5 separate regions of the Homo sapiens genome follow, and regions 1, 2, 3 and 4 are each linked to region 5. The links are contacts of gene promoters, found by promoter capture Hi-C in blood cells and fetal thymus (Javierre and others, 2016). All regions are on one chromosome and are shown on one strand. Each heading gives the region's core, a stretch centred on a gene start or on the middle of the fragment in contact. The rest is flanking DNA. Distances are from core to core; before and after follow the strand shown.

Region 1 (2,700 bases), core at 82-2,581, 3.3 Mb after region 5:
GCCACAACGGCAGCAGGGCACAGAGGACAATGAAGCTTTAAAAGGCCCCTCCCAGCACCTGTTCGCCAGCAAATGGCAGGAGCCTGGCCAGTGAAGAAGTTGCAGCGTCTGCCGAAACCAGGTGCCTCTGAGGGGGTACCCTCAGCCAAGCATTTTTGTGGTGAGAGCCGGCTGTCTGGTTGTAGATGGCAGGCGGCGACTCAGCAGCTGCTGCTCCCACCTCCTTCCACACTGCTGTCCCCTCCTGCTGCCCAGTTCCAATCACCAGACCCCTCCTCTCCACTCCCGCCATCATCCCTCTGGCTCAACTCACTCCTCCCTGCCCCAGAAGACTCTGCACTGTCCAGGTGGAGGTGATGGAGACCAGGGGAGTCCAGGAGAGGCGGGCACAGAGCTCCCCTCCACCTCCACTCCCGCCTTGCCCTGGACTGACCACACAGGCCCAGCTCACCTTTACTCCCCGCTGCGGTTCTGGCCTCTCACTGACAGGTCTCTCTGAGTCCAGTCCAGCATCCAGGCCTCCCTGATACAGCTCCCCTTCCTCTGAGAGCCTGGCCCTGAGCAGCCATGTAGATCGCAGACCAGCCTTCCCAGTGGGCAAGACTTCTGGCTTCTGCCCTTGTTTCAAGGCAAAGCAATTTGGGACAAGAAAACCATTTCCAGTCCTCCTGCTCCCCCCTTACACCTTAAACATACATTCTCTGCTCCTGGAACCCCCTGAACCACTCCTCAACTTCCCCACCAACCAGGCTCACCTCTAGCCTATGGAAGAGAAGATCCACAGAAACAAAGATCTTCTTAGCTATGGTTTTCGGGCCAAACGTGCTCAAAATGGGCACTGTCCAATATCCCGATTGCCTGGGGCTGGGAGTGCAATGCAGAGGGGCAGACCCCTCTGGGTGCCTGCTGCTGCAGGGCTGCTCTGGAGGCTCTCTACGGCTGCCCTCACCTGTGCTGTCCACTGCCCCAGGCCTGTGTGCCACATGTCACTGCTGGGGACATAAGGGCCCTGTGAGACAAAAGGGTCCCAGAATCTTTTGGGTCATAGAGTCCTTTGGAGTCTCTTGAAAGCTTAGTGCACTCTCCCCAGAAAATGCATGTATGTGCATGTTGTTGCAATCTGCATCCACGTGCAAACACACACACAATTTGCATATCACTGCAGGGAGATGAGACAGCTCTTGTCCATGTACTCCCAGATCCCCAGATCTTAGGTTTAGAATCTCTGCTGAAACCTGTCACAGCAAGAAAGAGGAGGCAGAGGAACGTTGTAGAGCCTTGCATGTGAGTTTTGCTGTGGCATTAACTTGGCCTGTGATCCTAGCGTGTTGCGCCGTCTCTTGGGCATCAGTTTAGCCAGAGCTGTTGTGGCAGCTGATAGAGAGTCTTCAGGGCTCTTCCCAGCACTGCAGCTATGGGGCTCAATGACACCCCACCCCTGCTTCCCAAGGTCAGGCAGGGCAAAGGGAGGGGGTTCCGGGCCTCTTCCTCAACAGTATATCCTAGGGCAGAAGGTGGGACAGCCAGAAAAGGAGACCCCGGGAACTACAAGTTTCTCTTTTACAAAAATAAGAAAACTGTTGAAGCTTTAGGAAGTGCAGCCACTTCTTATTTGATTTTCTTTATTTTAAAACAATTTCCCCAAACATACTCTGTGAGAGAATAACCACCTAGCCTTTGCAAGGCTCTGGGTTTAAAGCTCTGCTCTGTGACTGCCTGGCTCTGTTACCTTAAGCAAGTCCAGTTCCCTCTCTGAACCTTGGGCTCCTCATCAATTAAATAACTATAATCCTCGATGACTTCTGTGAAGACGAATGAGGAGACCTGTAAGATGGGCCTTGTGTTGGGCTCACCCATAATGAAAAGAGGCTCCCATTACTATTCTTATTGACACTGGGAGTTGGGGGCTCTGGAGAGACTGTGGAGCCCCAGAGATGGGAATGTGAGGCCTGCCTGCAGGAGTGGCCATGAATGAGGAGAGAGTCTGAGCTGACACCTGAAACCAGGCCCCAGACCCCAGGGGCCCAGGGCAGAGGGCTTTCTGGCAGATCCCCTAGTTAGGTCTCCCCTTTGAGGCTTTGCACGTCCAGAATCTGAACTCTGACACACACCCAAGTTTCGTTCATGTTCTTTGTTATCTGTCATGGTCCACTTGGTCCTGACCCAGGGCGACCCTGGACCTTGATTCTGTTCTCGACCTCCAGGCTACCCACTGGAGCTTCATGGTGGAAATACAACCCAATCTCCTGAGTTTCAGACAGACACTTTAATCTGTAGCATCAACCTTTTTGTTGTCAAATCACCAGCACTACACACTGAGAGAATTATGGCTAGAACTAATGACAACAGCCTTCACATACACTGACAAAGTGCTGAAACAGCCCATGACAATTTCCGGCCAGCATTTTTTTAACCTAAGTTTAATGAGTTTCATCTCTCCTCTTCCCTCCCTTCCTCTTTCTCCTCTGACCCTCTCCCTTCCTGTCTTCTCCCCTAACCTGCTGTCCTGGCAGAAGTAGCTAAGGAACCACACAGAGGAACAGAAGGCAGGATGGTCTACATTTACCTGTTACTTCACCAATTCACTTCTAACTTAAAAAAAAATGGTTTCTGGCAACAAATCCTGATTGACACCTTAGTACTGTGGGCAGTTAAACTACAGCAAAGCCAGCGAGGGGCTCCTCTGTGAGTGCAAAGCAT
Region 2 (2,700 bases), core at 79-2,578, 3.3 Mb after region 5:
AGCAATAAAATTATTGGAACTATTTTTCATTATCTTGTGTCAGAATGTGGAATTTAAAATAGAAACAATTATTCTGGGTTTCTTTGCATACAAACATATAAAGCAAATAAATGAAAACAAAAACATAATTTTTCTTGCCTTCCTTTCATCTTATTGTATAATTGAGACTTTAGGTCCAGGACTTTATCTGGATATTTAATAATTACATCAGCTGTAATTATGGTCAGCGTAAGAGTAAGCCGCATATAACACAAGATTACAGTTAGGACTACCCACTCCTTAACTTAAGCAAATATTTACAGAACATCTACCACACAGGAGACATTGTGTTAGGTACATGGTGTTGGTGTTGCTTTTTTTTTTTTTTAATAACTATAATGGTCATTATACATAAAAGCACACGCATTTAATACAATGGAAGTCAGATCTAGTCAGAAACTCAGACTGTCAAATCCACCTACGGATGAGGCAATCATACTAGTATGTGCCAGACACTGTGTAACTTGATTCTGTGCTAGCTCTTTAATTCTCCTGGCACCTTTATGCAGTTATTTCCGTTTTAAGTTAAGGAAACGAGGGCACAATGCTAGAAGGCACTGGCCGGGTTCCCAGACCCTAGCAGTTTGACTCCAGAGCCTGTACTCTTAGTGGCAGCCACATCTTCCATTGCTCAGTCCAGCGCGGCGACCCGTGCTTTGCATAGCTCCCCAGCAGGGGCAAGCACGAAGTTAAACCTGAGTGACAGAAGCTGCTGTTCTTGCACACCCAGCTAACTGGAATGTGCCTCAGTTTCCTCGTAAAATGGGGAGGGTAATGATAAAGTGGCAACACCATCAAGATGTTAGAAGTTGCAATGAGTCTGAATCTGAAAACCGCTCAGAGCAGCCCTGTGCTGCCTAAGCATTTGTTCCACGTATCTAGTCCTCGAACGCTCCGAGCGACGGAAGGGGCCGGGGCTGCTGCTCACCCGCCCAGTTCCACCCGCCGCGGGCCGCGCCTCGCCCGGGCCCCCAGTCCAAGCCTCCCGTTCCCAGCACTCCGCCGGCCGCTCCTCATTGACCCGGCCCGCCCGCCGCGCAGGCCGCGGCCCCACCCTGGGCCCGCGTGGCCCTCCCGCCCCCGCCCGGCGGCCAGGCCCTGCCCGGAGGCGGGAGACGCAAGCCACGCCATCGCCCGGGCCCGCGCCGCCCTCGTTGCGGCCAGCGCGCTCCCGAGCGGACCCGAGTATCCGACGCAGGCCCCGAGCGCCCCAAGTGCCCCAATCCCACTCACCGCGCGGGACCAGCCACCACTCTGGCTCGCTGGGCGCCTCCCGCGCCGCCGGAAGTGAGGGCCTCGCCGCGCTCTGGCGCCGCCGCGGTCGCTCTAGGAAAGTGGCGGAGCGACCCTCTATGGTCCCGGGCCCACCCGAAAGCGTTGTTCGTTTCTTCCTGTGGTTTTGTTTTCTCCTCCCCCCAACTCGGAAGGCGTCCTGTGACCCCCGGGACCTCAAGAGCTGTAACCGCCCCTGTGTGTGGTCGAGGCTTTTGAAACCAAACTCTAGCCTCTCCAACCTAGAAACTGCATACTTTCCACAAATTTTGAGATTTTTGAGACCCTGGTACTTTTCACGAAGTCACCTTAATTATCACCAAAAAGCTCCTGCAAGATGGGAGTGGTTATACTCCATTTACAGGAAAGGAACCAAGGCTCAGAGAAGAAATGTGCTCCGTTCACCGTGTGTAAGCGGACGACCCAGAATTGGAATGGTTCTTTGTGGCTCCAAAGTCTGATTTCAACACACCCCTTTTGTTGCTCATTAGTAATGATCTCTCTTTGTTCTTATTCCTTCCAGGCTCCTCCTCAGCCATCCTGGCCGTGCTCAGTCATCTGACCAGCTGACCTCCGTGTTCCCCCACTCCCTGGGGAGCTCCTCCGCCTTTTGGCTTCCAATGCTATTGCTGCATGCTGAAGACTCCCGCATTGGTAACTCCAGTCTGACTGTGGGACATAAATGTTATTGAACTTTAGACTTGTATATCGAACTGATTACTCAAGAGCTGCATTTGCATGTGTAATGGACATCCCAAACCTAACATACCCCCCAAATGAATTCCTGATATCTACCTAACCTGTTCTTGCAACAGTCTTCTTCCCAGGGATGGGTGAAGATCCCATCATCTTTCCAGTTGCTCAAGCCAAAAACCTTGATGTCACTGTTGTCTCTTCTTTTTTTCATCCAAAATTCACCTGTGATTTATCCACAAATTCTGTCGGCTTCATCGTTAAAATATATTCATTATCAAGCCACTTTCAACACTTCCACTGCTATAACCACCAAGCCACCTTCATCCACCTTCTGGATTATTATATTGGCTTCCAGACGGGTTGCCCTACAGTCTATTCACGGCCCCAGAGTAATCCTCTTAAACCTAAGTTAGATCATGTCATTCATTTGTTCAAAACCTTCAAAGGCTTCCCAACTTATTAGAGCAAAGCCAAGGACCTCGCAGTGGCACCCGATGCCTCTCATGATCTGTCTCTTTAGTTCTTTATTGTGTCTGCAGTGCTGAAAACAGTGCTCAGCAGGGAACAGACACTCAGTAAATAGCTGTTGAATGAATGAATTTATAAGATGCCTTATTGTTTACAAAGTACTTTTACATCTTATCTTCTGGTTATTCATCTTCACCATAGTCTCATGAAGCACAGATTATCATA
Region 3 (2,700 bases), core at 163-2,662, 3.4 Mb before region 5:
TGTTATTGTAAGATGATCTTGTATTAATTTAAAAATATTTACTAAGTGCTTGGAATATAAAAGGCACTGGACCAGGCATTGTGGAGAATATCAATCAGATATGGATTTTATGGTAATACAAGAATATTGATACCTCTAATATAGAAGATAATGAGTACCAAACCAGTACTCTAAATGGAAGTCTTTGAGGTGAGCATTGAAGAACAGAAAGATTTAAACATGGGGGAGGGAAGAGAAGAAGAGGAAAAAAGGAAGCATCCCTGACAAATAGTATCACAAAAAGCTAGGAGGTGAAAAAATACAGATCATGTATGATAAAAAGTGAGTGGTACAATTTAGCCAGAGGAGAATATGTGAAGGGATGGAGAGAAGTAATGAGAATGAAGCTACGTAACAGAGTGTGTTATATGTAGGAAGAACAACCACCACAATTTAGATTAAAAGTTATAAGGTATTAAAAAAGAACAGCCTAGGTAGAAAATATATAGAAAAGGATTAGATAAGTTTGGTATTCTTAAGCCTCTGCCATTATTATTCTATGTTCATGTTTCAGGGGGTGGTGAAGGAAGCCTACTGACTCTCACATCAAGTTCACATTCATGAATCTGAACTTCAAAACCTTTTATAATCTGTCCCAGAAGCCCATCTTTTGTCACACTCCTCACCAACTCTCTTGGTTTCCTCTGAGGCCGTAAAAAACACCAGGTCCCAATTTCTTGCGTTGGCTATTACTAGCTTCTGGTTTATTTTCTTCATCTTCTACCTATCTATGCCAGATTATAACCCTTCCCTAAATCTCATTTCCATCAGAAAGCTTTCCTTGATAATCTAAAACATATCACTCTCTTCCATCTCTACATACTTTATTGCATATCCATTTCATCAAATGGCAACATGGAAGAACTATCACTGACCTAGGAATAAAATGACAAGGGTCCTGGCAGCATGTCTTGTCTTTGATTTGAGGCACGTTATTCAATGCCACAGGCTCCGTCCTTGGTAAAATGAAATATTTGTGAATTAGCAAACTTTAAAGTCATTTCCTGTCATTCATTCAACAAATATATAATGAACATCCACCTGTGCTGAGCTCTATCCCAGGTGCTGAGGATACAGAGGTGAAAACAAAATATCTATCTATCTATCTATCTATCTGTCTGTCTGTCTGTCTATCTATCATCTATCAGCTACTATACTATAATTGCATTCTTTTTATTTAATTTAATTTTATTTATTTATTTATTTAATTTTTTTTTTTTTTTTTGAGACAGTTTCACTCTGTTGCCCAGGCTGGAGTGCAGTGGTGCGATCTCAGCTCACTGCAACATCCACATCCCGGGTTCAAGCAATCCTCAAACCTTGGCCTCCAAATAGCTGAGATTAGAAGCATGCACCACCACACCTGGTTAATTTTTGTATTTTTAGTAGACACGGGGTTTCACCATTTCACCATGTTGGCCGGGCTGGTCTTGAACTCCTGACCAAATGATCCACCCACCTCCGCCTTCCAAAGTGCCAGGATTACAGGCGTGAGTCACTGTGCCTGGCAACTATGATTGCAATCTTATAATGTAGTGGTTCTCAAAATTGAGCTTGCATTAGAATTACCTGGAAAACTTGTTCAAAGATTTCTCTGTTTCTGATGCAATAGATTTGGAGTAGGGCCCCAAACTTTTAATTTCTAAGATGTTTCCTGGTGATGCTGATGCCACTGAACCAAGGACCACATTTACAGACCTTCTTTTCTGGCAGACTATTGTTTTCACTGCTGTATTGTCAGTGCTTGAAATAAATATTGATGGAATGAAATAATAAATTTGAGGCACTTAGTTAACTGATAAAGGGGGATATATAATGATTTTACAGTTTAGAAGGAAAATCACAATTTTGCTGAAAGGTAAAGGAGTTACTATAATCAGAAAGGTACAAGGTATATCAAGGTTTATATCCAAAGAAAAACAAAATTACTTCTAACCTAGGGGAAAGGGTAGAAAGGTCATAGAAAGCTTTGTGGAGTAGTTTATTTGAGCTATTCCTTGAAGGACCCGTACACTTATTTCAAAAATGACTGTCATTACTCAAAATATTTGTAGTTCTTGTCTTTGGAATTTGTCTACTGAATCAATAGTGAATCTTTTCTTTTTTCCTTACACTCTATAGTGAATCTTTTTTTAAAAAATTCCTTCAAAGTGTATAGAATTTTTGTATTCTGATGTAAGGTTTGATATTTGGAATTAGCTAAGCATGATATTTTTGCCAAATCTGGTCAGGAAGTTGGGTGATTTTGTTGCATAATCCTGTTCTTTGTTAAAAATAAAGTATACTTTTCAGTTAATGTACCGATTTTCTAGTATGACTTATAAATGAAGGCCCAAAGCAATTTCAGGGTAGAAGTTCAAAAATCAGTCTGAGGCCAGGTGCAATGGCTCATGCCTGTAATGCCAACTCTTTGGGAGACTGAGGCAAGCAGATCGCTTGAGCTCAGGAGTTCAAGACCAGCCTGGCCAACACGGTGAAACCCCGTCTCTACAAAACGCACAAAAAATTAGCCATGAGTAGTGGCACACGCCTGTAGTCTTTACTCGGGAGGCTAAGGCAGGAGAATTGCTTGAGCTCAGGAGGCAGAGGTTGCAGTGAACCAAGATCACGCCATCGCACTCCAGCCTGGCTGACAGGAGTGAAATCCTGTGTCAAAAAAAA
Region 4 (2,700 bases), core at 57-2,556, 4.7 Mb after region 5:
ATAATTTTTAAAAATTAGCCAGGCTTGGTGGTGCTTACCTGTAGTCCTAGTTATTTGGGAGGCTGAAGTGGGAGGATCCGTTGAGTCCAGGAGTTCAAAGTCACAGCAAGCTGTAATTGAGTCACTGTACTCCAGCCTGGGCAACAGAGCAAAATCTTGACTCAGAATTTTAAAAAAATTAAAAAATAATTTAGAGCACATACAAGAGGATTCCTAGGATCTGAAAGAGCACTTCAATCTGGTCAAACTCTCTTCCTTTCTGTTCAATTTTATAAGCATTCTGACCAGCTCTTTAGTGATTAGGAACTAGACAACTGTCTAATGTAAGAGCATACATTTTGGATCCAGAAAGTCTTGGATTTGAACCTTTGCTCCACTTTGACTCCTTATTTTCTGTGGGTTTCTGGGCAAGTTACTTAACCTAGTTGGAGTGCCTTGGGCTTGGAGTCCAGAGTAGGTCTTTCTTTTCCAAGAATTGACAAGTGTTTACACTTGGTCAGAACTGGTATTCTTGTATCTTCAAGAGCAAGAGAAAGGCGAGTCTGGGTCTGGAGCCTCCTAAGAATTGTTCAGTGGTAACAAATGGACTCTCTTGTTAAGTCTTTGTAACTACAGATAACTGGAGAGCTGATTGGCTCCAACCAATCATGAAGGCTGAAATGTTGTTTTCTTAGATTCTGAATTCCTCTGGGGCTTGGAGGGAAGAAAGTAGTAGGTGGTTAGGTGGGGAACCAAAATGGAAGATCCCAATTACATGCCAAGACCAAAGTGTAAACAGGAGTGACTATTAACTTGGGATTGGCAGGAAGAGATATATGTTTATGTGTTCTCTGCTTTCCCACATCCTGCTTCCTCCTAGACTCATTTGTGTGTGGTCCTGGTACCTTTGGGCCCATTTTGCAGTGATATTTTAGTAACTGACATTATGTCAAACAATCTAGGTTTCTTACATTCACTTATGTCTCAACAACTGTTGACTTTTTCCTTCTCACATATCAATTATTCTGCCCTTTCCTGTTTGTTTCTGTTTGTTTTTCTCCCTCAGGTGCTCAGGAACAGCCCATGGAAGAATCATATGAAGAGGTGGTGACTGAGGTCGTAAGCAGGAGTGGACATGTTTGGATTTCCAACAGCTACCCTGCTGGACTGTCATGGAAGATATGCCCAGAATGTAGCGTTCTTCAGTGAGTGAGTCAGTTGATGGCTGGATGCGCTCAGCTCACAGATATTCAGTGTCCCTGTTCTCAGCACTGGTCGGCAGTCTGAGGAAGCAGAGGAGACCTTGCTTTGGTAGAGCTTGCTGTTCCTAGGGTTATAAGAAAAGCCTGTGAGCTGGAGTTAGAAGTAATAGTAGAAACAGAGCAAGAGAACCATCTTGATATGGAGGTAGCGTTGAAGTAGTCTCTGAGAATGAATGAGCAGCTTAAATCTCAGCACTGTCTCTGAATAAGGCAAGGGAACAAGGAGAAGATTACCCTGGAGTGACAGACACCAAGAAAACTGTTAATGGTGATGAATGGACCCATATTTAAAGTGCACCAGGAGGCTCAGATGCAGGGCAGTATTCGGAAAAAAAAAAGTCAATATCTGCATAGAGAATAACTTCCAAACCAAAATTGATTTCAGTTTTGCCATAGCTTAGTAGACTGAAAATAGCAAGGATTTTAATGGGAAAAATTCCTTGGATCAGATTCTATAATTGCCATGGCTAGATCTGCAGTATCAGACAGGTTATTTAACTTCCTTAAGCTCCAGGTTCGTCTGTAAAATAGGACAATAAGTTCTATCTTGTAGGGTTGCAGGGATTAGCAATGATAGATGTAAAGTACCCAGGATTGTGCTACATATTTTCTGAGGTCATGGTGCTTATTCTATTGTCAGAACAGATTGGACAGAGGTGGATTTCTGAAGAAGCAAATGCAGCTTCAGTTTTAGGACCCCTCACTTGGATTGGTCTCTCCAAGACCCTGTGCTTAATTTTATACATTTTCTTAAAAGGGTGCCTCTAAAATGGGAAAGTTTTAGGCCTTATATAGCCTGGATCCACACCTGTTTTGGAGTCAGATAAAAGTTGGGTATGGGGCTCTGTGTGATTCTGTATAGTTTTCTAAATTTTCTGAGCCTGTTTTCTGACCTGTAAAATAGAGAAAACCATGTCTATCTTACAAGGTTATTTGTTGGCCTAAATTAAATTTAGAGGCAGTACACTGCTATGGAGAATGCCTATTTGAGTCAGCTCTAACTTACCTAGCTCTGTGACCTTTGACAGGCTCCCTTTGCTCCCATTATCTGTATCACTCTCATGGCATTGTTTTCAGGATTGCATTGTCTATGCAAAGAATAAGGCCTGGCACATCATAAGCACTCAAAGTATTATGTTTCTTTTTCCCTATTCTAACTCAGCATTATTGGTGCTTCTTATATGACTTCCCTCTCATTTTATCAGATGTGATGACTGAAGCCCACCACAAATATGACCACTCTGAGGCTACAGGATCCTCAAGCTGGGATATCCAAAATTCTTTCAGAAGAGAGAAGCTGGAACAAAAATCCCCAGATTCGAAGACACTACAGGAAGATTCACCTGGAGTGAGACAAAGGGTCTATGAGTGCCAGGAGTGTGGAAAATCCTTCCGGCAAAAAGGTAGTCTAACGTTACATGAGAGAATCCACACTGGTCAAAAGCCTTTTGAGTGCACC
Region 5 (2,700 bases), core at 58-2,557:
CAGAATATAACCATACCTTCCTTAACAGACATCACTTATGTAACTGTCTCATTTAAAGGTCCATCTATTATACTTCAGTCAAAGCATCCTCTTCCATGAAAGGATACTTTACCTTCACACCAAACCTCTTCATCTGAGTACGGTACTAAACAGCTGCTGAATGAATGAATGAATGAAAAAACAGATGTTCTAATTGCCAAGGAGGTACTTGCTGGATGCTTATCTCAAAACACAATGGACTGACGGACCAGAATTCTACTGGAAAGATCGCTGGATTTCAGAGGTAAAAATAGTAATCACTGGACAATGCCATGTAGTCAACATGTTATTAAATTCGCAGTAAAGACCAAGCAGGGAACTTTCAGAAATAAAAACGGAAAGTGTTCATCAGGGTACTTTAAAATGGACTTGGTTCTACCATCTCTGAATCGGGAACACAAATGCGAGACAAAGAGATGGGAGGGTGGGGTGAAAAAGTCAAAAGGTCACCACCGATGACCCTCAAGAGAAATGCGCGCTGACCACCGAAGCTCGGGCCAAGCTGGATGGACACCTCCCACCCGAGCCACGGGCCTGGGCTCTCTGCCCTGCAGCCCAGAGCTGCAGGCCACTCTGGCCCTTTTCAGCGCTGCTGCCTGCGTTCGCCCAGAACGTTAGCACAAAGAAAGCATCGAGAAGCAAAATACGGTCCCTATGGGCGCGGGGCAGGCTTGGGGACCTGCCGGCAGAAGCGCTCTCCCCGGCTCCCCGCCGCCCCGGAGGCAGCCAGGGCGCGGCGGGCCGCAAAGACACCTCCGTCCGACCCTTGCCGAAGTGTTTCAGAACTTGCCACCCACCCCCCCGCTCCATTTTCTTCTCCCGCCGCGGAGGCAGGACCCACGCGAAGAGGACGCGAGAGGACAGGCGGGCGGGGCTCGCGGCGGCAGGCGGGCTGGCGGGCAGCGGAGCGCACCCAGGTCCCGCAGCCCCACGCCCCCTCGGCTGGCCCCCGCCTCCGCGCCGCTATTGTTCCCGCGCCGCCCCCGCCCACCGCGCGCTCCCGCCCCCACTCCCAGGAGGGGGTTACGGCTGAGGAGAAGGCGGCGGCGGCGGCAGCGGCACAATAACATAAACACGACGGGGCCGCCTGCCGTCCCGGCCCTGCGGCGTCCGCCGCACTCACCCGGCAGCGCAGCGAACGGCGACAGGGAAGCCCGCCAGCGGGGACAGGGGCCGTCCGGGGTGGTCGCCGCGGCCGTTACCCAGCGCTGCTCGCGGCTCCGCAATCCAAGCCGCGTCGTCCGGCCTCGGCCGCTCGGCTGAGTAACAGAGACGCGGGCCGTCACCGCGCACGCCCGCGCACGTCATCGCGCAGGGCCCCGCCCCCGCGCCTCCCGAGCGGCCGGCGGGGCGGGGCAGCCCCGGGGCCCGGATTGCGGGGGCGGGGCCGCCGCCCGGGGACGGCGCTACTCCAGGGGTTACGAGAGGACTTGCGGAGGTCGCTTGGAGGCGGAGCCGCGGAGAGAGCCTCCGAGGGCTGTGGGTGAGGGGCGTGGCCTGGAGCGGGAGGGGCGGGCCCTGTGGCGGCACGTGGCGGCGCGTGGCCCCAGGGGACCGCATCTGGTTGGCGGCGGTAGCCAGGTCAGAGCTTAAGCCTTCGGGCCTCGTCGGCACAGGGTTGAAGGGCAGGTGCGCTTAGGCCTAACCTGCGCAGCGAACAGGCACCCCCTTCCGGTACACACACCTGAGTGATGAAGAGCTGGTTACCTTGACCGACAATATGTTCCATTCTGAGGACACCTGTCCGGGTCCCAGAAACCTACAGAGAGATAAGTGTTCTCTTCAGCTGCCCGGGAAAAGCTGCCTCCAGTTTTTCCAAAATCCACCTCCTCCGAGATTCCTTGCAAATCCACCTCTTCCCAGATTCCTTGCATTACCTGGTTTACTTCTGAGGCCCCACAAAGCGTGTAAATGTTACAGAAGCGATAAATTGACAAGTCCTTTAAATATCCAACAACGGGTGGAAAGGCGTTTGAACTACCTACACCATTCGGTAGAATACATTTTAGCAATTTAAATGCCATGTGTTCAAGGAATTCTTAACAACATAGGAACATGTTCACAATGTATCATTAAGAGAAAGAAGCAAGAAACAAGTCATATATAGAATGGTCCCACTTAGATACTATATATACACATAGAAAAAACCTGGAAAGAAATACACCAAATTATGTTAACAATGGTTCATCATTGGACTATGGAATAAAGGGTGACTTGGTTCTCGTTTATACTTTGGGTATTTTCTCATGTTTTCCGAGAGGAATAGTTATGTTCACAATCAGAAACAAGTAAGTTACTTTAATAATGAATATATAAATATTTGTTGAATAAATGAATGATTTCAGGTAAACTACTTTCCTATTACATGTGGGGCTGGCCTGTTTCTGGTGATTCTGAAAGGGAACATACAGATGATTATTCATTCATTCTCTTCCCATTTCCTCTCTCCCTCCCTCTCAACCTTCTTAATTTCCTTCCTGCCATCCTTTGTTCCTGCAATAATTATTTATTGCATGCCCATTCAGTGCCAGGCAATACAGTAGAGTTTACAGATTTAATCACTGTACTATGAAAGTAATAATAGTAAACGCAAAATTATCACTGTTTTATAATACAAATTGTTAAGGATACATAATACTATGAAACCAATTAATACACTAG

What was found. The method cuts DNA at HindIII sites, captures the fragments that hold promoters and counts their contacts. A CHiCAGO score of 5 or more calls a contact.
Region 1: a fragment that was not itself captured here is called in contact with the fragment with the promoter of MAPK8 in region 5 in 4 of 17 cell types (activated CD4 T cells, naive CD8 T cells, total CD4 T cells and 1 more); the score reaches 9.1 in activated CD4 T cells.
Region 2: a contact is called between the fragment with the promoter of ZNF22 here and the fragment with the promoter of MAPK8 in region 5, in 6 of 17 cell types (activated CD4 T cells, non-activated CD4 T cells, total CD4 T cells and 3 more). The highest score is 17.6, in activated CD4 T cells.
Region 3: a fragment that was not itself captured here is called in contact with the fragment with the promoter of MAPK8 in region 5 in 1 of 17 cell types (naive CD8 T cells); the score reaches 5.7 in naive CD8 T cells.
Region 4: the fragment with the promoter of ZNF32-AS2 here is called in contact with the fragment with the promoter of MAPK8 in region 5 in 4 of 17 cell types (total CD4 T cells, non-activated CD4 T cells, total CD8 T cells and 1 more); the score reaches 15.3 in total CD4 T cells.

What each region holds. Positions count from the first base shown.
Region 1 is chr10:44,960,800-44,963,499 of GRCh38, reverse strand. All of the region lies in intron 1 of RASSF4 (Ras association domain family member 4), which reads right to left. Among named protein-coding and RNA genes, the nearest start is that of RASSF4, 2.3 kb to the right of the region's middle. The HindIII fragment of the contact is 515 bases long and covers 1,074-1,588 here.
Region 2 is chr10:44,999,551-45,002,250 of GRCh38, reverse strand. It overlaps ZNF22 (zinc finger protein 22), which reads right to left and starts at 1,328. Exons shown (of 2, transcript NM_006963.5): 1 at 1,273-1,328. LOC124902530 reads right to left here. Exons shown (of 3, transcript XM_047426129.1): 3 at 1-1,471. The coding sequence ends at 842. It overlaps ZNF22-AS1 (ZNF22 antisense RNA 1), which reads left to right and starts at 1,448. Exons shown (of 4, transcript NR_126421.2): 1 at 1,448-1,721; 2 at 1,835-1,965. RefSeq lists an enhancer at 712-1,212 and a silencer at 939-1,288. The HindIII fragment of the contact is 6,687 bases long and covers 1-2,700 here.
Region 3 is chr10:51,702,706-51,705,405 of GRCh38, reverse strand. The region is part of intron 3 of PRKG1 (protein kinase cGMP-dependent 1); the gene reads right to left. Among named protein-coding and RNA genes, the nearest start is that of CSTF2T, 4.5 kb to the right of the region's middle. The HindIII fragment of the contact is 1,192 bases long and covers 817-2,008 here.
Region 4 is chr10:43,644,548-43,647,247 of GRCh38, reverse strand. It overlaps ZNF32-AS2 (ZNF32 antisense RNA 2), which reads right to left and starts at 1,306. Exons shown (of 3, transcript NR_047558.1): 1 at 951-1,306; 2 at 39-136. ZNF32 (zinc finger protein 32) reads left to right here. Exons shown (of 3, transcript NM_006973.3): 2 at 1,046-1,184; 3 at 2,447-2,700. The coding sequence starts at 1,115. The region is part of intron 1 of ZNF32-AS3 (ZNF32 antisense RNA 3); the gene reads right to left. ZNF32-AS1 (ZNF32 antisense RNA 1) reads right to left here. Exons shown (of 2, transcript NR_047557.1): 2 at 2,201-2,398. RefSeq lists an enhancer at 413-1,612. The HindIII fragment of the contact is 3,514 bases long and covers 1-2,700 here.
Region 5 is chr10:48,305,284-48,307,983 of GRCh38, reverse strand. It overlaps MAPK8 (mitogen-activated protein kinase 8), which reads right to left and starts at 1,307. Exons shown (of 12, transcript NM_001323329.2): 1 at 1,163-1,307. RefSeq lists a silencer at 727-1,676. The HindIII fragment of the contact is 3,503 bases long and covers 1-2,700 here.